Linked DNA regions of Homo sapiens: all the other regions are linked to region 6. The links are contacts of gene promoters, found by promoter capture Hi-C in blood cells and fetal thymus (Javierre and others, 2016). All regions are on one chromosome and are shown on one strand. Each heading gives the region's core, a stretch centred on a gene start or on the middle of the fragment in contact. The rest is flanking DNA. Distances are from core to core; before and after follow the strand shown.

Region 1 (3,259 bases), core at 670-3,169, 270 kb after region 6:
CCCTTTCTAATGATCTCTGTAAAGGCTGTTCCATCCAGTCCTCTCACAGGAATTCCAGGAAGTGGGAAAAATGAAATTGTTGCTTGTCAAGTGTAGAAGACCACCCACACTCAGCAAGGGGGTGAGCTGGAAGCCAGCCCTCCCATGGAGGACCCAGCAAGGTTCTTGCAGTGGAGAAATAGCCCAGCCTGCTGCTGCTATTGCTGCTGAAACAGCTGCTGATATTTGCTTCTCTCTCATATAAATATAGCAAGAATTATTCATCTTTATCTTTCTTGGACCCTCTTAGCTGAAGTCACCATTGTCTTCCCTGAGCAGACCCTCCCTGATTCCTGAAGCAACGCTCAATCTGAACTTGAGAATTAGTTGTTGTTTTTCGTTTTTGGTCTTGTTTTTGAGACTGAGTCTCAGTCTGTCGCCCATGCCGGAGTGCAGTGGCGCGATCTCCACTCACTGCAACTTTCGCCTCCTGGGTTCAAGCAATTCCCGCTTGAATGGGAGGCTTGAACTCAGCCTCCTGAGTAGCTGTGATTACAGGCGTATGCAACCATGCCCAGATAATTTTTTTGTATTTTTAGTAGAGACGGGGTTTTGCTGTGCTGGCCAGGCTGATCTCGAACTCCTGACCTCAAGTGATCTGCCCACTTTCATCTTCCAAAGTGCTGGGATTACAGGCGTGAGCCACCACGCCCAGCCAGAGAATTAGTTGTTTTGATTGTACATGAGAATGTCTTGGAGGGTAAACCCTGGCTATCTGTGTCTCCATCTAGCAGCCTTCTCTGATCTCCTGCCATCTTGACCTAAGCCAAGTCCAAGGACTTCTGCCTTGGTATCTCTGCCTAGCGTTCATGCCCCCAGTCCCTTAGCTGGAGCTCAGTGGGTCTTCCTGGATCCAGTTTCTTCCCCATTAGAACCCTTGCCCTGGGTTTTGTATAATAAGGATAGACAAAGGACATGGGGGCAGAAGTTACTCAGATAAATACATCTGTCTACCCTGCAGCCATCACCAGGCCTGCTCTGCAAGGAGGTAGAAAGAAAAGCATTAGAAATAATCGAAAAGTCCAACTGGAGTCTCACCAACTCTAAGAAGCCTTCTGCAAAGCTTCCAGCCCATCTTCAGCTTTCCTTCGCTAAACTTTCACTGGGTTTTTCACCTGGAACAAAGTTTTAGACTTCAGCATATACTTTATTCTGTTGTTATCTGCTTTATATATCTCCACAACCAGATTAGAGGCTTCTGGAAGGCAGGGACTATGTTACATATCACTATGTTCCATAACACTGCCTAGTAATGCATTGTGCCTGGATTATCCCTCCCACCATCTTTAGGCTTGCAGTCTACCCTACACACTACTGCCACAGCCAGCTTACTAAACACAGACCCAGTGAGGCCACTCAGGGCCCTCCATTGACTGAACTCAAACTACCTCCCCAGTCTTTCTCCTCTACTCTTTTTTCTTTTTTCTTTTTCTTTTTTTTTTTCTTTTTTTTTTTTTTTTGAGACAGACTATCACTCTGTCACCCAGACTGGAGTGCAGTGGTGCAATCTCGGCTCACCGCAAACTCTGCCTCCTGGGTTCAAACTATTCTTGTGCCTCAGCCTCCCAAGTAGCTGGGATTACAGGTGTGTACCACTACACCCAGCTAATTTTTTTACTAGAGATGGGGTTTTGCCATGTTGCCCAGGCCAGGCTTGAACTCCTGGCCTCAGGCAACCCACCCACCTCGTTCTCTATTCTTTCTACCTCCAGACCTTTGCTCATGTCCCACCCTAACCCCGCCTCCATCCAAAACAGTTTAAAGCTTGCTTTTCAAGATTTTTCAGGTACTTGCAAATATTATCTCCTTCCTAGAGCCTTCTAATATTCCCATCTGAGGCAATCACTCCCTAGCATTTCCTAGCATTTTATATTTCATCTTTTAATATGTACTACCTAGCACATAGTAAGCATTCAGTAAATACATTTAAAAGATTATAGCATCTTTGATTGTAGCTACTCATGCTATGAAAGCATCTTTTCCTTCTACTAAACTATAAGCTTATTACCTCTGTATACCTCATCTGGGCCCAGTAGATGTTGAAACAGTAGACATTCAATAAATGTATGCTAAATTGAATAGTAGGTGTTCAGAGATACTTAACTGAATGAATAAAATGCACAGAAATGACTGAATCTAAATGGTAGCTAGTAGCTCAAAGACTTTCTATATTACTTTCTACACTACATTTCTACATTACTTAGTACAAGTGACCAAAAAACCTAGTTTCATCTAGCGTAGGCATGCACAATGAGTCATGTAACTCATTTGTAGGAAAGGCAGGGGTACAGTGGGATATGAGGTACAACGAACTCCAGTGCTGCTGGCACTCACTCCTTAGCTTTCTCGTCTGCCTCTCTTGCATGCGAGCTGTATTCTTTTTTATTGCAGGCTTCTTCCATGGGGCAGGGAACTTGACCCCTGATACTTCCAGAGTATAAGATACTTGACCTCTGATACTTCCAGAGTATCTCTTCACAGTAGTCACAGCAGGGACCAAGCCTTGTTTTCTGTTTAATCGTAAGTGCAAAACTCTCAGGAAAGGATGTAATTGGCTCAGCTTGGGTCAGGTGGGGTTAGGACTGCTAATAAAATGTCAGTTTCAATTGTTGTTTTTTGTTTTGTTTTGTTTTGTTTTGAGATGGAGTCTCACTCTGTCACCCAAGCTGGAGTACAGTGGCACGATCTCAGCTCACTGCAACCTCAGCCTCTGGGGTTCAAGTGATTCTCGGGCCTCAGCCTCCTGAGTACCTGGAATTACAGGCATGCCCAGTGATTTTTTTTTGTATTTTTATTTATGTATTTATTTACTGATACAGAGTCTCACTCTGTCACCCAGGCTGGAGTACAGTGGTGCAATCTCAGCTCACTGCAACCTCCATCACCTGGTTTCAAGCGATTCTCCTGCCTCAGTCTCCCGAGTAGCTGGGACTACAGGCGCGCACCACCGTGCCAGCTAAGTTTTGTATTTTTGGTAGAGACGGGGTTTCACCATGTTGCCCAGGCTGGTCTTGAACTCCTGACCTCAAGTGATCCAACCACCTCGGCCTCTCAAAGTGCTGGGATTACAGGCATGAGCCACCATGCCTGGCCCAGTTTCCATCTTAACAGTGAGAAGAAAGGACGTCCCAAAGAACTGGGTTCGGGCATGGGGAAAATGGCTGCTGTTCTAGCCAAGGCAAAATGGTAGATATTCACAACAGGGAGTCATGCAGTCTGC
Region 2 (3,451 bases), core at 581-3,080, 380 kb after region 6:
TTGGTTTCACTGCCTACATAGCTTTAGGTATACTACCTTTCCGCATTGTTGGAGCATGAGGCAGTTGGGCCAAAATGGCATTAAAGCCTAAAGTGAGGCATGTTCAAGATGCCACAGTGACCAAATTCACGCCATCCAGGATGCACCTGACTCTGGAAGCTGATGAGGCTAATGATGCTAACGTGTATCCTGGATCCCTGAGGTCCGCTCCCAACATCAGCCCTTCAGCCTCAGCTGGGTTCTAACAAAACCCCCTGCCACCTCCACGTTGATCTTTGTTGTCATTCTCATCGCAGTGCTTTGGTATGGGAGGTGTTAGAAAACTTAGAGACTAGAATTGTGGAGGTTGGGACCTTGTAACTCCAATAAGCACTGAAGAAGGTGTCTCTACAGTCCCTTCTTCCATGGAGCTGGAACCCCCGCACCCACCCCAAGTGTAAACCCTCTCCTCCTGCAGGTTCAAGCTCCTCAGTCCCAGGGAACTAAAACTGAATAATGTGAGGAAGCAGTGATGTTTCTGCTCAAACTGTGATCTGGATCCAGAAACTAGCCCTAAACAGCTCATGGCTTCTCAGGAAGCTTTATAAAAGGACTGTCTCACTCACATTCTGCCTACTTTCCCATCTTCCCTCCTGGGAAAATGAAGTCCAGTTAATGGAATCAGCACCTTTCCTTCATTCCTGGTAGATTAACCCTTGGCATTAAGCAGATAGATATTTCTAAGATTATTCTACCAGATTCATGAAGGCTAAAGGGAATTCCTTTTGATTTTGTCCTTGTTACTTAGGGGTCAGGGATAAGGATGGTAGAGTTGATTGAGGCCCTAGATCAGGACCATTGTCAGAAAATGAATGGCATGGCCGGGCGCGGTGGCTCACACCTTAATCCCAGCACTTTGGGAGGCTGAGGAAGGCAAATCACAAGGTCAGGAGTTCGAGACCAGCCTGGCCAGCATGGTGAAACTCTGTCTCTACTAAAAATAAAAAAATTAGCTGGGCATGGTGGCAGGTACGTGTAGTCCCTGCTACTCAGGAGGCTGAGGCAGGAGAATGGCTTGAACCCAGCAGATGGAGGTTGCAGTGAGCCAAGATCGTGCCATTGCACTCCAGCCTGGGTGACAGAGCGAGACTCTGTCTCAAAAAAAAAAAAAAAAAAAAAGGAAGGAGGGAGGAAGGAAGGAAGGAAGCTGGGCACAGTGGCTCACGCCTGTAATCCCAGCACTTTGGGAGGCCAAGACCGGCGGATCACGAGGTCAGGAGATTGAGACCATCCTGGCTAACACAGTGAAACCCTGTCACTACTTAAAATATAAAAAATTAGCCAGCCTGGTGGCGGGTGCCTGTAGTCCCAGCTACTCAGGAGGCTGAGGCAGGAGAATGGCGTGAACCCGGGAGGCGGAGCTTGCAGTGAGCCGAGATCGCACCTTGCACTCCAGCCTGGGTGTCAAAAAAAAAAAAAAAAAAAGGAAGGAAGGAAGAAAATGAATGGCATTAATTGCCTCTGTCTCTGAGGAACAGGGCACTGAAAACCAGAGGCTACTTGTGTAAGCCTCGACCTGTAGCTGTTTCAACCACCACCAACCAAAACCTCTTCCTCCCCCTCCCTCAGTCTAATTGCCGAGTTACTGTCAGCATTTCTGCCAGACATTTCAGATCTCTAATGCATTAATGCACTTAGTAGCATTCTCGATAGTGGGCTTGGCCACTGGGTTCTTGAGCTCCATTCTCAGGGAGCCTACCTACTTCAGCCCAGGGAAGGGATAGCTCAGACAAGATACCCAGAGGAGGATGAGCCCAGCAACTCATGGCCCAGGGGTCTTTCCATCATGGCCATTTGTATATTGGCTACTAAATGGCCCCTGTTTTTTATTTAAACACATGAGTTATTTTCCTGGAAAATCCGCAAAAATACGTAGTCGGTTTAATTGATTTAGAGGTTCCTGAGCCTTCAAATTCAGTAATACATAATTTGCCTTCAGAATCTTCAATTGTTTGCCTTATTTTTAAGAGTACAGGTAAAAAGGGGCCTGTAGGTGGAGGTTGCAGTGAACCGAGAGTGTGCCACTGCACTCCAGCCTGGGCGACAGATTGAGATTCCATCTCAAAAAAAAAAAAAAAGTACAGGTAAAAACAACGAACAATCGCTGTCTAGCTGTTAGGAGTGATGGAGTAGGGAAAAGTCCCTTTACATTTTAAATACTCTTGGCCCCCTCTAAACCTCAAATGCCCACTGTGGATTCAAAGGGAAGAAAAAACTAGATTCTGGCTGGGCGTTGGGACTCCATGGCAAATTGTTCCCTAAGTGAAGTATGATATGCAATTAACGTTTTTCTCCTTCTCCTCACCATTGCTTTTTGTGGGAGGGAAGCTCTCTCTTGCTCTCTCCTGTCCCCTTTTCCCATCTACTTCCATTCCTGCTTCCCCAACCTTCCATGACCCTCCCTTCCTCTTTCTTCACCTCTCTCGGACTGACTGTGGAGCAAAGCTGTCTCACTCTCTGATTCTTTGCAGATCGACGTAATTAACACATTCCAGACGGGAGCCTCTTTTAAGGGAGTCCTAAGGCGACAGAACATGGGTCAACACCTTGATGTAAAACTTGTTCCTAGTTCATCCTATGTAGCAGTTGCACCAGTCAAATCTTCCCCCACCACTTCTGTTCCTGCTGTTTCATCTCCTCCTATGGGCAGTGAGTGATAGTCTATTATGATGCATGATTTGCTAAAATGACCACAAGAGAGCACGTGGCATCCACTTTAACCAACCATGGTTATCTTTTCCTTTTGGTTTTTCCCTTTGATATTTTGACTTAAGGGAAGAAAAAGACAAAAATCCTACTCTAAAACCAGACTGTGTGCCCTTGTATTTTATTTTTGTAATGTAGAAAAGCTATTAAACCTTAACTGTTTTAAAGACAATAATTCTGTTTTCTGATTGTTCCTCTGCATTGCTCATTTCTTCCTTTTCTTGAGTTTTGTTTTGTTTTGCTTTGCCTTTTTTGTTTGTCTGTTTGTTGCTTTGCTGGGATATGTTGTTGTTCCTCTCTTCTCCTCCTGCTCCTTTGAGTCTGAACTCTACCTCCTAAGCTTAGATGTGAGGTTAGGCCAGAGGAAAACCCAAGAGCTTTCTTTACATGGGGGCAAAGTTTGGGATCTTTTGAGGAAAGGTAGGAAGGGAGCTAATGTGCCCATGGGTGTGTTTTGACTAGTGGACCTGTCATAATTGAGCCAGTATTAAACTTGGTCAATAATAATAGTCCATTTGGCCACCACTGTATTGCTGACTGGCAATTTTAGCATAAAAGTTGTAGCTGGCTGGGCACGATGGCTCACGCCTGTAATCCCAACACTTTGGGAGGCCAAAGCAGATCACGAGGTCAGGAGATCAAGACCATCCTGGCTAACATGGTGAAACCCCGTCTCTACTAAAAATACAAAAAATTAGCTGGGCGT
Region 3 (3,295 bases), core at 147-2,646, 330 kb after region 6:
CACCCAGCTAGCTTTTTAGATTTTTTTGTAGAGTTGAGGTCTCAGTATCTTGCCTAGACTCATCTCAAACTCCTGGACTTAAGTGATTCTTCCACCTTGGCCTCCCAAAGTGTTGGGATTACAGGCACAGTGAGCCACTGCTCCTGACCCCTCTTTTCTCCTTTTTCTGTATCAGTGTCCAGAAAGGAGGATATTTATTTTTAAAATGTTTATGTTATAAATGTTGTTGTCAGTAAATAATCAAGTCTGTTCTTCTATATGTCTGATTATAAAATAATTTAATTCTTCCCTACACTGATCTTACAGTTTAATGAATGGAGGAAGGAAGGGTACAAAAAAGTGAATAAGTCCAGCTGCCCAATTGAGCACTTCTCTATTGTATACTGTTAGAAATGGGATGATAGGCCAAGCAGGTGGGTGGCTCACATCTCTAATCCCAGCATTTTGGCAGGCTGAGGTGAGAGGATCACTTGAGCCCAGGAGTTCCAGACCAGCCTGGGTGACATAATAACACCCCATCTCTATTTTTTTTTTTTTTTTTTTGGAGACAGAGTCTTGCTGTGTCACCCAGGCTGGAGTGCAGTGGAATGATCTTAGCTAACTGCAACCTCCGCCTCCCAGGTTCAAGCAATTCTCATGCCTCAGCCTCCTAGGCAGTTGGGACTACAGGTGTGTGCACCACCACGCCCAGCTAATTTTTTGTATTTTAGTAGAGATGGGATTTCACCCTGTGGGTCAGGCTGGTCTCGAACTCCTGACCTCAGGTGATCTGCCTGCCTTGGCCTCCCAAAGTGTTGGGATGAGGAGGCTTACAGGCATAAGCCACCACGCCCAGCCTCTATTTTAAATAAAAAGAAAAAAAAAAGGAAATGGGATGCTAAATCACAAGGTATATAACTGTACCCATCATATCTTTGGATCACTCACTGTTTTGTGTCAGGGAATTATAAGTGATTTTTTTTCAACTCTGCTGGATACACTTTTAATGTAGTTCTCCTTAATCTTTTTTGTTTGTTTTGTTTTTTGTTTTTTTGGTTTTTTTGTTTTGAGAAGGAGTCTCACTCTTGTTGCCCAGGCAGGCTGGAGTGCAATGGTGCAATCTTGGCTCACTGCAACCTCCACCTCCTGGATTCAAGCAATTATCCTGCTTCAGCCTCCTGAGTAGCTGGGGTTACAGGCATGTGGCTAATTTTGTATTTTTAGTAGAGATGGAGTTTCACCATTTTGACCACACTGGTCTCAAACTCCTGACCTCAGGTGATCCGCTCACCTCAACCTCCCAAAGTGCTGGGATTACAGGTATGAGCCACTGCGCCCGGCCTTAATCTCTTCTTAAAAGCTAAAAAAACTTAAAAGATAATGAAAAATTCAGCTTCAGGCTTTGGCCCAGCCCAGTTGCCCAGTGTGCCATGGTATTATGAAATTTTGCCTCATCAAAATGTAGAAAGAACAAAAGGAAACTTGCTTTTTCACTTTAGTCTGGTTTTAGCATCTCTGTAGCAGATTCTTACTTGGCCCTATACATCTGGCAGTTCATGGTTGAGTAGCATGAGATGGAGCAAAGATCTTGTCCATTAGGGGCTTTCAGTCTCATGTGGTCTCCTATTTCTGAATCTTCCTCAGAGGCCACAGCATATTTCTCACCAATTCTAAGAAGTTGTTACCCTTTGCCAGTGCTGTATTATAAGTTAGTGACTTGGAGCCTAGACTCTTTAGGATGAAAAAAGAGAAAGAGAGTTTTACATAGATATCTATACCTAGTTTATGTCTTATTTTCTTTACAACCTAAGGGAGCTTCCCTACCTGTTTTCTTTACTTCTAGAATTTGGTTTCCTATCTCATAGGCTTTGAGTTCAAATGATAGCTCCACCATTTACTAACTAAGTAGCCCTCTACAGTTTACTCAGCCTCCCTGAGTCTGTTTCTTCTTTGAAAATAATGTTAATAACACCTAGCCCATAGAGTTACTGAGATTAAATAATACATATACAGTGCTCATACTTATAATTAGGTGTTCAATAGATTAGTTTTCTCAGATTAAAACAGAGTCCATGCATCTGTAGATACTTGCCAGAACATGGGTGCCTATGGAGTGCAATGTTTTGTCCTATCTGGAGAGGTTACTGTGTGTGTAACTGCAACTACTGTCCATTTCATTTGCTCACTTCTTAATCACAAAAAAAAAAAAAACCCTGGGTAAGGTGGCAATATCTAATTGCTTTCATGTGGCTCAGTCTTTGCCTTCTAATGGTAGTCCTTAATCATACCCCTTTGGGCTCTGTCTACTTCTTGCCAGCTAGATTTCTTTATTCAGTCACTTTTACAGCCGTACTGACTGCTGAGGGTCTGTTCTTAATTATATCTTCACTGAGATTATGCAGTACTTTACAAACACCCATCAGAATTTAAACAGGATCTTTCTTTTTCCCTTCCTATGCTGTTCTTGATCCCTCTGGTCAGCTGTCTGTCTCACAAACAGGAACTCGGGAGTCCAAAGAAGCTGGAACCTAGAGAACTCCTGACAGCAGGATTCAGGCTTTCCTCCAATTTTCCAGATCCCTTCCCAGAGCTGCCACTGTTTACTTTCTGATTCCCAGAGAGCTTCCTTTCCCAAAGGCCAACATATATTCTACTTTCTGTCAACATTGGATATCAAATGTTATAGACATAGCTAATGCTCTTGGATCCTTTCCCAGTCCTGGTTTCAGCCCCTTCCAATGGCAAGTGCTTCCCTCGTTACAGCCCCTGGCCATGCCTGTAGCCTAGGACTCCTAACACTGGCACAATTTTCTACTGCCATGTACTGCTTCCTTAGATCACAAATATGTGTCCTGGTGTTTTTCTTTCTTTTCTTTCTTTTTTTTTTTTTTTTTTTTTTTTTTAGAAGGAGTTTTGCTTTTGTTGCCCAAGCTGGAGTGTAATGGCGCGATATTGGCTCACTACAACCTCCGCCTCCTGGGTTCAAGCAATTCTCCTGCTTCAGACTCCCAAGTAGCTAGGATTACAGGTGCACGCCACCACTCCCAGCTAGTTTTTTGTATTTTTAGTAGAGACGGGGTTTCATCATGTTGGCCAGGCTGGTCTCGAACTCCTGACCTCAGGTGATCCATCCACCTCGGCCTACCAAAGTGCTGGGATTACAGGCGTGAGCCATGGCATCTGGCCTTTTTTTTTTTTTTTTTTTTCTTTATGAGAGATGGGGTCTTGCTCTGTTGCCCAGACTGGTCTCAAACTCCTGGACTCAAGCAGTTCTTCTGCCTCACCAGTTTGTAGTAATGTAAGAGTTACCATAGGG
Region 4 (3,211 bases), core at 474-2,973, 440 kb after region 6:
AATAAAAGTGTATCTTACAATCAATGATACTTTAGGTTTACTGAAATATAACTATAAACTCTATATAGCACACTAGTCAGGCCAGGACTGCATCTTGGAGAGTCCTAGGTTGGAAAACCCTTAAGCTATGTGGAGAGCCCTCTGGTAAATTTTAAAAACCCTAGGTGTCGTGGCACAGACAGAAATTGGTTACCAGTAAGAGTCACACAGACCAAAAAAATGAAGACCAAAACAAAAGAAAAAGAAAAAGAAAGAAAAAAAGAAATTGGCTACCAGGAACTTGCTTATTAGGTCTGTTGACATGGCAATGCCAGAGCACTGTCACGTAAGGCAGAGATTGGAGCTAAGATTCTAAAGTTGTGGTTCTTACTTTGAAAGGAGATAAAAGCCCAGATATGAGGAGGCTCAGGACCCCTCTGCTCTGATAAATTCCTAGTCTTGGGCTGCCTGGGACTCGCACATCACCAACCCGGCAGCTGGAAGAACAAGCACACGAGGAAATAAAAGGTGCCTGAAGTCCCATCTGCTTTATCATCAAGTGTTTCCTTTCTTAGTAGCACAACTATATCCTTTACCCAAGTTAGGTAAAATGTTGCCACCTAATTAGAGTTCTGCTGAGCCACTACCCCAGGGGGACCTTGGGCTCCTATTATATGTGTAATATATTTAAGTATATTTTCAGTGTAAAAGCCAGAAAGGATATATGGTAAGTTAATGAGAGCTATTTCTCAAGAATGAGATTAATAGAGATTTTAACTTTCTACTCTCTATATTTCTGTATTGTTTCTAAAAAAACTTACGTGTATTAAGTTTTTTACTTTTTTTTTTTTTTTTTTTTTTTGAGATGGAGTCTTACTCTGTCGCCAGGTTGGAGTGCAGTGGTGCGATGTCAGCTCAATGCAACCTCTGCCTCCCAGATTCAAGCGATTCTCCTGCCTCAGCCTCTCGAGTAGTTGGGACTACAGGCGCGTGCCACCACGCCTAGCTAATTTTTGTATTTTTGGTAAAGATGAGGTTTCACCATGTTGACCAGGATGGTCTCGATCTCTTGACCTTGTGATCCGCCTGCCGAGGCCTCCCAAAGTGCTGGAATTACAGTCGTGAGCCACCGCACCGGCCACGTGTATTACTTTTATAACCGGGGGAAAAAGTAAAAACATTCAAAAGGGAAAATAAGGGACAATGTTAATAATGAAGCAGGGATGAGACTGCTGATTGCGACCTCCAACTAACTCTCCTGAATTTTGTCACGAGCATGAATTACTTTTCCAATACACAAATTTGCTTTAAGAAATCAAAGAAACACCCCCCCAAAGCCCAATCTCACTTCTTCAAGTAAAAAATAAACTAACAAATCATTCTACATTGCATGCTTAGGAAAAGTACAGTTTATTTCTAAATTAAATGTATACATGGTTTGGGAGATTTACTCATTAAGCAAACACTTTGGTAAGAATAAATTGAGCGCTTACTGAATGGCAGTCTCAGTTCCTGCGGCCCTCCCGCTTATTACCTCATTTGATTTAAAAACAAAAACAAAACGTTATGAAAGCCGGCTTCGAGGCATTCCTCTGAAGGGAAGGGACTCCCCGACCCAGCGCCTCCCCCGTCACGTGACCCTGTGACCCGGAGCAGCCATCTTAGGCATCGCCTCATAGAGGAACTACATCTTCCAGAATCCTCGCGCCCTGCGTCGTGCTGGCACTTTTACCGGCCGGGCCTTAGAGCGGAGCCTGTAGCCAGGCGCCATCTTTGACGCTGGCAGTCTTGGTTTTCTGCTAGTGCTGCTGCTGCTGGGAGGACGACGGACGGCAGCGGCCAAGCAAGAAGAAAGACGTGGCAGCAAGCGGGAGTCGGGGATAGTGTCATCGGTTCGGTAAAGTTTCTGTTCTCTGGTAACTAGACCCGTTTTTTTGATTCCCGGGTGGCTTGGGGCCGGGGAGGTGGGGGAGAGGGCGAGGGGAGTGGCAGCGGCCTCCCCTCGCCCCTGGGTCGCGGCCTATCCCGGGAAGTCAGAGCGGATCCTTCAGCTTCGCCGTAACGACCCCTCCCCCCCACCTCCCGGTCGCGGCCCTCGCCGGGGCTGGCTGGGAGCCCCAGGCTCCCGCTCACTTTTCCCATCCTCCCCACCCCCACCCCGTTCACCCCACCCCCACGGCGCCTGCTCCTTTCCCAGCCAACCTTCCTCCCCTCCCCCACATCCGGTGTTCGCTAATCTCGAGGAGCCCGGAGCAGCCCCGAAAACCGACTGTTCCCCCGAATCCCGAAGAGAGAACTGACACTAGATTGCTTTCTTCGGGGCAACAGTTTCTCTAGTTGAGCGGACCCTCACTGCCTAAATCAATCAGACTGAGTGCCGGGCGCTGAATTTACCTACTCTCATTCCTCTCCAGGGTCCCGGTACTTTGGAGCTTGTCTCAAACTCCACATACAGAAAGCCACCGACCTTATTCCGGTATCCTACACCCATTCCCCACTCTCATTACACTCCCACCCCTGGCCCTCAGCGTCGGAGTCAAGAGCAACAGGGACACTTCCGTTCTCCTTGTAGGACTGGTGAAACCGTAATGAAGAACACCCCTAAACTCCCATAATCGGTGCGGATTCCTATGGGGAAGGCCTATATTGTTGACATCTTCCAGGCCTTGGTTCTGGACCTTGAGAAAGAGGCTGTGGAACTAGAGATAGCGATGCTTTTTAGGGTAAATGTATGTAGGTATTGGGGGAAGGGGAGGGATCAATCGAAAAATGGAAGTGGTTTAAAGTTCATATTTCACTTTTTGCTATCTCTATAGCGTACAACTTGTGAGTTACTTACAGGCTGTAAAAGCTTCTCAAGTCTAAAAATATCTGAAAACTAAACTTGAATTAACTCTTAATACAAACAGTACTTTGAAAATGCAGCATTTAACCTTGTTTTAAAATTTTTTTCTCAAAGCATTTTTTTCCAGCCACTCACATTTTAAAAGGTTGTATTACTTTTAGTTAGAACTGAAAGGGCTCAACTAGCATTTGCTGTGACCAGTATGCGGAGTCTGTGTTGGCTTTCCAGAATTGACTTTTTGGGTTGTATTGGCAAATCACAGTCCTAAATGATGAATGTTGAATGATGCACTATGTTTTTGTTTAAATGAGATTTCCTGAAAATAGTTAATTTCAGAATTAAGGGAAATTGATGTCGCTATCATGAGGCATCATAAAAATATGTATT
Region 5 (3,180 bases), core at 397-2,896, 400 kb after region 6:
CTACGCAAAGGGGAAATAATAGAACTGTCTGAGTGGCTAGTGCCATTACACTCACAGGGCATATATCTGTCCCTACTCCTTTTTTTGTTTTTGAGACAGGGTCTTGCTCTGTCACCCAGGCTGGAGAGCAGTGGCATGACCAAGGCTTACTGCAGCCTTAGACTCGGCTCAAGTTATCCTTCCATCTTAGCCTTCCAAGTAGCTGAGACTACAGGCATGCACCACCATGCCTGTAATTTTTTTTAAGAGATGGAGTCTTACTATGTTGTTCAAGCTGGAGTCAATCACCTGGCCCCAAACTATCCTCCCACCTCAGCCTCCCAAATGTTGGGATTACAGGCATGAGCCACCATGCCTGGCCTGTCTCTACTTTAGAATAGAACTGGGCCCTGTGTTCAAGCTTAAGCATCACTTGATTTCTCTGGTGTCTCCTATAACAGAGGACATATAGACCATCTCCTTTTAGCACATTCTTTTTCCAAACACAGCACAATTGATTTAAGCTTTCTTGCTATGCTAGACCCAGGAAGACTGCATTGAAAGACTGATTTGTGTTTTATAACTCCAGATCTTCATGTCTTCACCTATTTAAAGCAAGTATATATGATAACTCATTTGAAAGAGGGAGTAAGGCTGGGAAGAGCTGGACTGGTACCTACAGATTGCCTTTAACCATGCTTAAGAGAAGAACAAATATATCCATGATCATCCAAAACCCTTTATTTAAGTCAAGAATTCCTGCATCTGACCAGCCTGGCCAACATGGTGAAACCTCATCTCTACTAAACTTACAAAAATTAGCTGGGCATGGTGGCTCATGCCTGTAATCCCAGCTTCTCTGAAGGCTGAGGTGAGAGGATCACTTGAACCCAGGAGGCGGAGGTTGCAGTGAGCTGAGATTGCACAACTGCACTCCAGCCTGGGTTACAAAGATAGATCCTGTCTCAATAAATAAATAAATAAATAAATAATAAAAATAAAAATAAAAAATTCCTGCTGGGCGCAGTGGCTCATGCCTGTAATCCCAGCACTTTGGGAGGCCAAGGCAGGCAGATTGCCTGAGCTCAGGAGTTCAAAACCAGCCTGGGCAACATGGCAATACCCTGTATCTACTAAAAATACAAAAACTTAGCCAGTCGTGGTGACAGGCACCTGTAATCCCAACTACTCAGGAGGCTGAGGCAGCAGAATCACTTGAACGTGAGAGGTGGAGGTTGCAGTGAGCCGAGATCATGCCACTGCACTCCAGCCTGGGCAACACAGCAAGACTCTCTTTCCGAAAAAAAAAAAAAAAGAGAGAATTCCTACATCTTTCCTATCAAACCTTTTGAATTGAGCTGCTGCTGCTGACCGGGTAGGAAAGGAAGGCGTTTAAATGTTTCTCTGCTTACTCTTTGATCGAGGAGCTAAAATGGCAAAATTAGAGTAAGATTCTGATGTGCAGCTGATTGGAAGGCAGGAGACACATGCCCTGACCTCAACTCTGCTTCTTGACCAGCTTGATTTCCCATGTGTACAAGGAGATCATTAAAGTACATCATTTTCAAATTACATTTTGAAGATCAGAAAGGAACTCCTGAGAGATAATTTAGGGTCGACAGGCGTTCAACAAAAATAGCACATTTTTAAAACGTTTTTGGGCCAGGCACGGTGGCTCACACCTGTAATCCTAGTTCTTTGGGAGGCCGAGGCGGGTACATCACTTGAGGTCAGGAGTTCGAGACCAGCCTGGCCAACATGGTGAAACCCTGTTTCTACTAAAAAAAAAAATTAGCCAGGCGTGGTGGCACATGCCTATAGTCTCAGGTACTTGGGAGGCTGAGGCTGGAGGATTGCTTGAACCCAGGAGGCAGAGATTGCAGTGAGCTGAGATTGCATCACTGCACCCCAGACTGGGAGACAGAGTGAGACTCCATCTCAAAAAAAAAAGAAAAAGAAAAAGAAAAAATGTTATTGGCTTCCAGGTCAGCTATAGCTTTTAAAAAATGACTTTAAAACACTGACCAGCTGGGTGCAATGGCTCAGGCCTGTAATCCCAGCACTTTGAGAGGTCAAAGCAGGAAGATGGATTTAGGCCAGAAGTTCAAGACCAGCCTAGGCAACATAGTGAAACCTCATCTCTATTAAAAATTTTGGCCAGGCATGGTGGCTCACGCCTGTAATCCCAGCACTTTGGGAGGCCGAAGTGGGCAGATCACCTGAGGTCAGGAGTTCAAGACCAGCCTGGCCAACATAGCGAAACCACGTCTCTACTAAAAATACAAAAATTAGCTGGGCATGGTGGTGGACGCCTGTAATCCCAGCTACTCAGGAGGCTGAGCAAGAGAATTGCTTGAACCCGAAAGGGGTTGTAGTGAGCCAAGATTGTGCCACTGAACTCCAGCCTGGGTGACAAAGCAAGACTCCATCTCAAAAAAAAAAATTAATTTTTAAAAATTAGCCAAGCATGGTGGTGCACACCTATAGTTCCAGCTACTCAGAAGGCTGAGGTGGAAGGATCACTTGAACCCAGGAGGTTGAGGCAGCAGTGAGTTGTGATGAGGCCACTCCAGCTGGAGTGACAGAACAAGATCCCATTTCAGAAAAACAAAAACAAAAAACACTAACCTAGTTCATCCTTAAAGTCCCTGCCAACTCTGAAATGCTATGATTGTAATTAACAAAACAAACAGTCCAAAGTTGAGTGGTAATATAACAAATTGTGTTCAAGCAAACAAGCAAGCCTAACTTGGATCCTGTCTCAATTATCTGCCACTACCATTATCAATGCATGCACAGGTAAAATTCAGCAAAGCTTAATGACTGTAGTCTAGCCTGCTGAGACTATTATCTAGCTGATTCTGCAGTGGAATGATAACCTTCTGCGTTGAAATTTATGATGGAAAGAGCAGTTGTTTGGGAATGCAGAGATCTAACCCAGTGGAATGGCATAAAATCAGAGAGGAGAAGCGAGGTGTCTCATCCAAGGTGTCGTGGAAAGAACTTGGTCTGGGAATTAGAAGGCCTCTGTTGTAATGCTGACCCTGAACCTAGCTTGCTCTGGAACCTAAGGGTCTTTCCAACTCTGACACTCTTTCCATTCTTGCTCTCACATCTAATTGCTATTAATAACCACTGAAGAATGTCTACATAAAATTTCTCTTTCATTGCTTTATCTCCCTGGAATGTAGCATTATTGTG
Region 6 (3,526 bases), core at 237-2,736:
TCACATTGCTGTTGGGCCTACTGGGGTTGGCAACTGTAAACAGAAGAAAGAAAGGAGTATAAAAGCCAACATCATCAGATCCAGTGAACTGATGGGAAAGACCCCAACTATGACACTCAACAGAGTTACCTCCTGACCACCATCCATCCCAGACCTCTCTGTCCCCTCAAAACAGTTTCCTTGGGCCCACTTCATCCCATCAGTTCCTAGGTTGCAGAGGAGCAGGCACCCTGGCTCATCCACAGGCAGCCTCAGGCCTCAGACAAAGAGCCACAGTGTTTTGGAGAAGCTGACCCAACTGCCCACTGCCTGGGCAAGCTGGCTGGTTCCTGGCTCTGGCCAGGAGAGAAGACGAATGGAGCGGCCCACTGCCAACAGAGCATTTTTCCATGCACAGCCCTGGGCTGTTGCAGGACCAAGGTGGCTGTCTGGAGGGCTGGCACAGTGAGCCTCTGTCTCCGTTTCTCCTTCTTTCAGACTGGGCACCTTGGCAGACAAGAGCCACCTTCCCCTTCAGACTCAGCTTTCTAGGGGCTGTGCACCCTGCCCACTTCAGCCTCTTCTTAGAGCCATGGGTGCTGAAAGGGTTTGATGGGGAGCTTATGCCTCTCCTTACCCCATCCCATCTCTTAGCAATGTTGCTTCAGGGTTGCATAGTCTTACACTGTTTCCCATAATGCTAGAGGCCCTCCTGTGCTCAGAGTTTCTGTAAGGTCGAAAGTTTCCAGGACTGCCACACTATCAGCTGGGGGAAGTTTACTCAGGAGCTACTGCTGTTCTTTCATTTCTCCACTCTAGAGAAAGATCTCTCCCTCCTATCAGTGGAGAAGGTCAAGCCAGAGGCCATCCCCTCACCTGGATTGCATCCCCACCCCAATCCACAGCTCCCTGGACATGGCCAGTTCTCAATGCTTCTTTTTATTCTCTCCTTTCCACTCCAAACACACACACACACACACACACACACACATTCTACACAAAAGTTTCCCCCTCTCCCATAATAGCATTTATGTACCAAACCCCTCTATAAGAGAGATTGCAGGGACATCCAGGTCTTGGAATACCCTTCAAAATGCCCACACTCCCAGCATGATGGGATTTATGAGTAGCAGGGAAGAAGCTTCCCTAGACAGAGGGTCCTTCACTTTTTCATGCCTGAGAATTGGAGGTCCCCTCAGCACCCATAAAGGAACTGTAAGAGAAAGGTACAGGGCTGGAACCCCTCCCTTATACACCCTCTCTGCCACTCTCCAGCATCCCTGGGGTCATGGCCCAGATGTGGAGAAGGAGGAATGAACCCTCCCTGCCTCCCCATCTCCCCTATCCCCTACCACTTTTCCTTTATTTCTTTTAAGGAACTGCTAGGGACAAACCCGAAGTAAAACGACTATACTTACCTCAAGTTGAACTTTTCAGAGAGTGACCACGTCCCTCTGTCTGGCCTCCTTGGGTTGGAGAACGTGTGAGAGAGGAAGAGAGAGAGGAGTGAAAGAGTCTACTGAGAGTGTGCGTGCCTGTGCCAGACCAGGGTCCCGCCCCAAATTCCTAATCAAATATTGTGAAAAGGGGCTGAGGAACCCGGATCCTGGTTTTTTTCAGCTCTGCTGCAGGGGCGGAGTTCACGCTCAACCACGCAAATCCTTCGGTCCGCCTGACGCTATAAAAACCACCTTTTTTCCACTCACTTATCTTCCCTGAAACATTGGCAGCCCTGGGTCCCTTTCTGCTGAATGAGTTAGTGGCGCCCTAGAAGTTATTTGTACAGTCTCTTATGAAGCGCCTGGATTTCTCATTAAAGCCACAAAGGCAGATGCAGGGATGGGGAGGGCCAGGGTTTGGTAAGAGACATCTTAACTCCTTCAGCAACCCACATGTCCCTCCAGAGAGCGAGAACTCGCGCTTCTCAGCTCCCCCTATAGACAGGTCATCAGGCTAGTGGATAAGGGAGCATGAATGACAAGGGACAGCCGGCTCTGGTTCCAGTTCTATCCCTAAGCAGTGTAGACTTTTCTAGGCTACAGGTCCTGCCCACCTCCACCACTGGAACAAAAGGAAAGGCAGGGACTCCAGCATTTGCTGATCACTGCTTATGCACTAGCATCATCCACTTCCACTTAATGCTCACAACAAATTCAGAGTTAATAACACTTACCTTGCTGGGTTGTAGCAAGGACTGTATCAGGTGATGTGTGGGAGGCTCCTGACCTGGCACATAGCTGAGGTTCACTGTGTCCTACCCATTTCACAGCCATAGAATTCCTCAGCCAGGGAAAGACAAGATCAGAAAGCTGGGCAGGAGCTGTACCATGAAAGGACTTTTGGGCGATGGAAGTGATTTGGTTTTTATTCTAAATGTTTTTGTTGTTGTTGTTGTTGTTTGTTTGTTTGAGAAGGAGTCTCAGCTGGGCGTGGTGGCTCATGCCTGTAATCCCAGCACTTTGGGAGGCCGAGGCAGGAGGATCATGAGGTCAGGAGATCGAAAAGGAGTCTCGCTGTGTCGCCCAGGCTGGAGTGCAGTGGCACAATCTCTGCTTTCTGCAACCTCCGCCTCCCAGGTTCAAGCCGTTCTCCTGCCTCAGCCTCCTGGGTAGCTGGGACTACAGGCACACGCCACCACGCCCAGCTAATTTTTTGTATTTTTAGTAGAGACAGGGTTTCATCATATTGGTCAGGCTGGTCTTGAACTCCTAAACACAGGTGATCCACCCACCTCAGTGCCCCAAAGTGCTGGGATTACAGGCGTGCGTCATCCGGTCCGGCCTATTCTAAATGTTTAAAAAAAAAAACATGTTTCAAGCAGGAGAAGCCATGGGATCTGATTTGCATGGGATCTAATTTACATTTTAAAAGCATGTAGGAGGGGCTGCTGTATGGAGAAGGGGAGGCCAGGGTGGAAGCAGGGAGGCTCCAACCCAGCCTCAAGGAGAGGTAATGGCAGATTGGACTGGTGCAATGGAAGAGAAGATCTTATATTTTAGACAGAGAACTGACAAGTCTTGCAGAGTTAGGAAAAGTCAAGGATGATTCCTAGAATTTTAGTTTGAGCAACTGGGTAGGTGGTGGTAACATTTCTTGACATGGGAAAGGTGACGTGGGACTGAGTTGGGTAGAAAACCAAAGTTACATTTTGGATATGCTGTTAGAGATGCCTGCTAGGCATTCCCCTGGAGATGCACGTAGACCGTTGGACATATGAATCTGAATCTGGAGTTTAGGGGCTGGAAGAAAACATTTGAGAACCATTATAATGTGGGTCACACAGAATCTCAATAGCTTAGATAAACTCATGTGTCCTAAATGTTCTCTCCTCAAGTATGTTAACTGGCTTATGCCAACATCAAAGAAACACCTTTATCTTAAAAAAATACCAACTGAGAAACCCTGAGATGACTTGAATTTGAAGAATTTAGAAGTGTCGAGGCAGATGGTCCTTTTGGTTTCTCCAATAGGTTTGAGCTTTTGACTTAGCGTGTGGGCTGTCAGAAAGGGCCTTGTCAGGGACCCATTCTCAGAATTTAAGAAGAGA

What was found. Contacts are between HindIII fragments. The CHiCAGO score rates a contact against its expected background, and 5 or more counts as called.
Region 1: a fragment that was not itself captured here is called in contact with the fragment with the promoter of FMOD in region 6 in 3 of 17 cell types (M1 macrophages, naive B cells and M2 macrophages); the score reaches 7.7 in M1 macrophages.
Region 2: a contact is called between a fragment that was not itself captured here and the fragment with the promoter of FMOD in region 6, in 4 of 17 cell types (M2 macrophages, M1 macrophages, naive B cells and 1 more). The highest score is 7.9, in M2 macrophages.
Region 3: a fragment that was not itself captured here is called in contact with the fragment with the promoter of FMOD in region 6 in 5 of 17 cell types (M1 macrophages, M2 macrophages, naive B cells and 2 more); the score reaches 9.5 in M1 macrophages.
Region 4: the fragment with the promoter of ZBED6 here is called in contact with the fragment with the promoter of FMOD in region 6 in 15 of 17 cell types (M2 macrophages, M1 macrophages, total B cells and 12 more); the score reaches 19.7 in M2 macrophages.
Region 5: a fragment that was not itself captured here is called in contact with the fragment with the promoter of FMOD in region 6 in 3 of 17 cell types (M1 macrophages, M2 macrophages and M0 macrophages); the score reaches 7.3 in M1 macrophages.

What each region holds. Positions count from the first base shown.
Region 1 is chr1:203,619,469-203,622,727 of GRCh38, forward strand. No RefSeq gene overlaps it. Among named protein-coding and RNA genes, the nearest start is that of ATP2B4, 5.7 kb to the right of the region's middle. The HindIII fragment of the contact is 236 bases long and covers 1,802-2,037 here.
Region 2 is chr1:203,730,713-203,734,163 of GRCh38, forward strand. All of the region lies in intron 20 of ATP2B4 (ATPase plasma membrane Ca2+ transporting 4), which reads left to right. It overlaps LINC00260 (long intergenic non-protein coding RNA 260), which reads left to right. Exons shown (of 1, transcript NR_046213.1): 1 at 1-1,141. Among named protein-coding and RNA genes, the nearest start is that of LINC00260, 1.9 kb to the left of the region's middle. The HindIII fragment of the contact is 2,506 bases long and covers 578-3,083 here.
Region 3 is chr1:203,683,830-203,687,124 of GRCh38, forward strand. All of the region lies in intron 2 of ATP2B4 (ATPase plasma membrane Ca2+ transporting 4), which reads left to right. Among named protein-coding and RNA genes, the nearest start is that of SNORA77, 44 kb to the right of the region's middle. The HindIII fragment of the contact is 7,908 bases long and covers 1-3,295 here.
Region 4 is chr1:203,793,900-203,797,110 of GRCh38, forward strand. It overlaps ZBED6 (zinc finger BED-type containing 6), which reads left to right and starts at 1,724. Exons shown (of 17, transcript NM_001395895.1): 1 at 1,724-3,211. ZC3H11A (zinc finger CCCH-type containing 11A) reads left to right here and starts at 1,724. Exons shown (of 18, transcript NM_001376342.1): 1 at 1,724-1,895. RefSeq lists an enhancer at 1,425-1,844. The HindIII fragment of the contact is 5,182 bases long and covers 1-2,828 here.
Region 5 is chr1:203,748,089-203,751,268 of GRCh38, forward strand. No RefSeq gene overlaps it. Among named protein-coding and RNA genes, the nearest start is that of LAX1, 16 kb to the right of the region's middle. The HindIII fragment of the contact is 2,291 bases long and covers 502-2,792 here.
Region 6 is chr1:203,349,636-203,353,161 of GRCh38, forward strand. It overlaps FMOD (fibromodulin), which reads right to left and starts at 1,487. Exons shown (of 3, transcript NM_002023.5): 1 at 1,398-1,487. The HindIII fragment of the contact is 3,247 bases long and covers 1,119-3,526 here.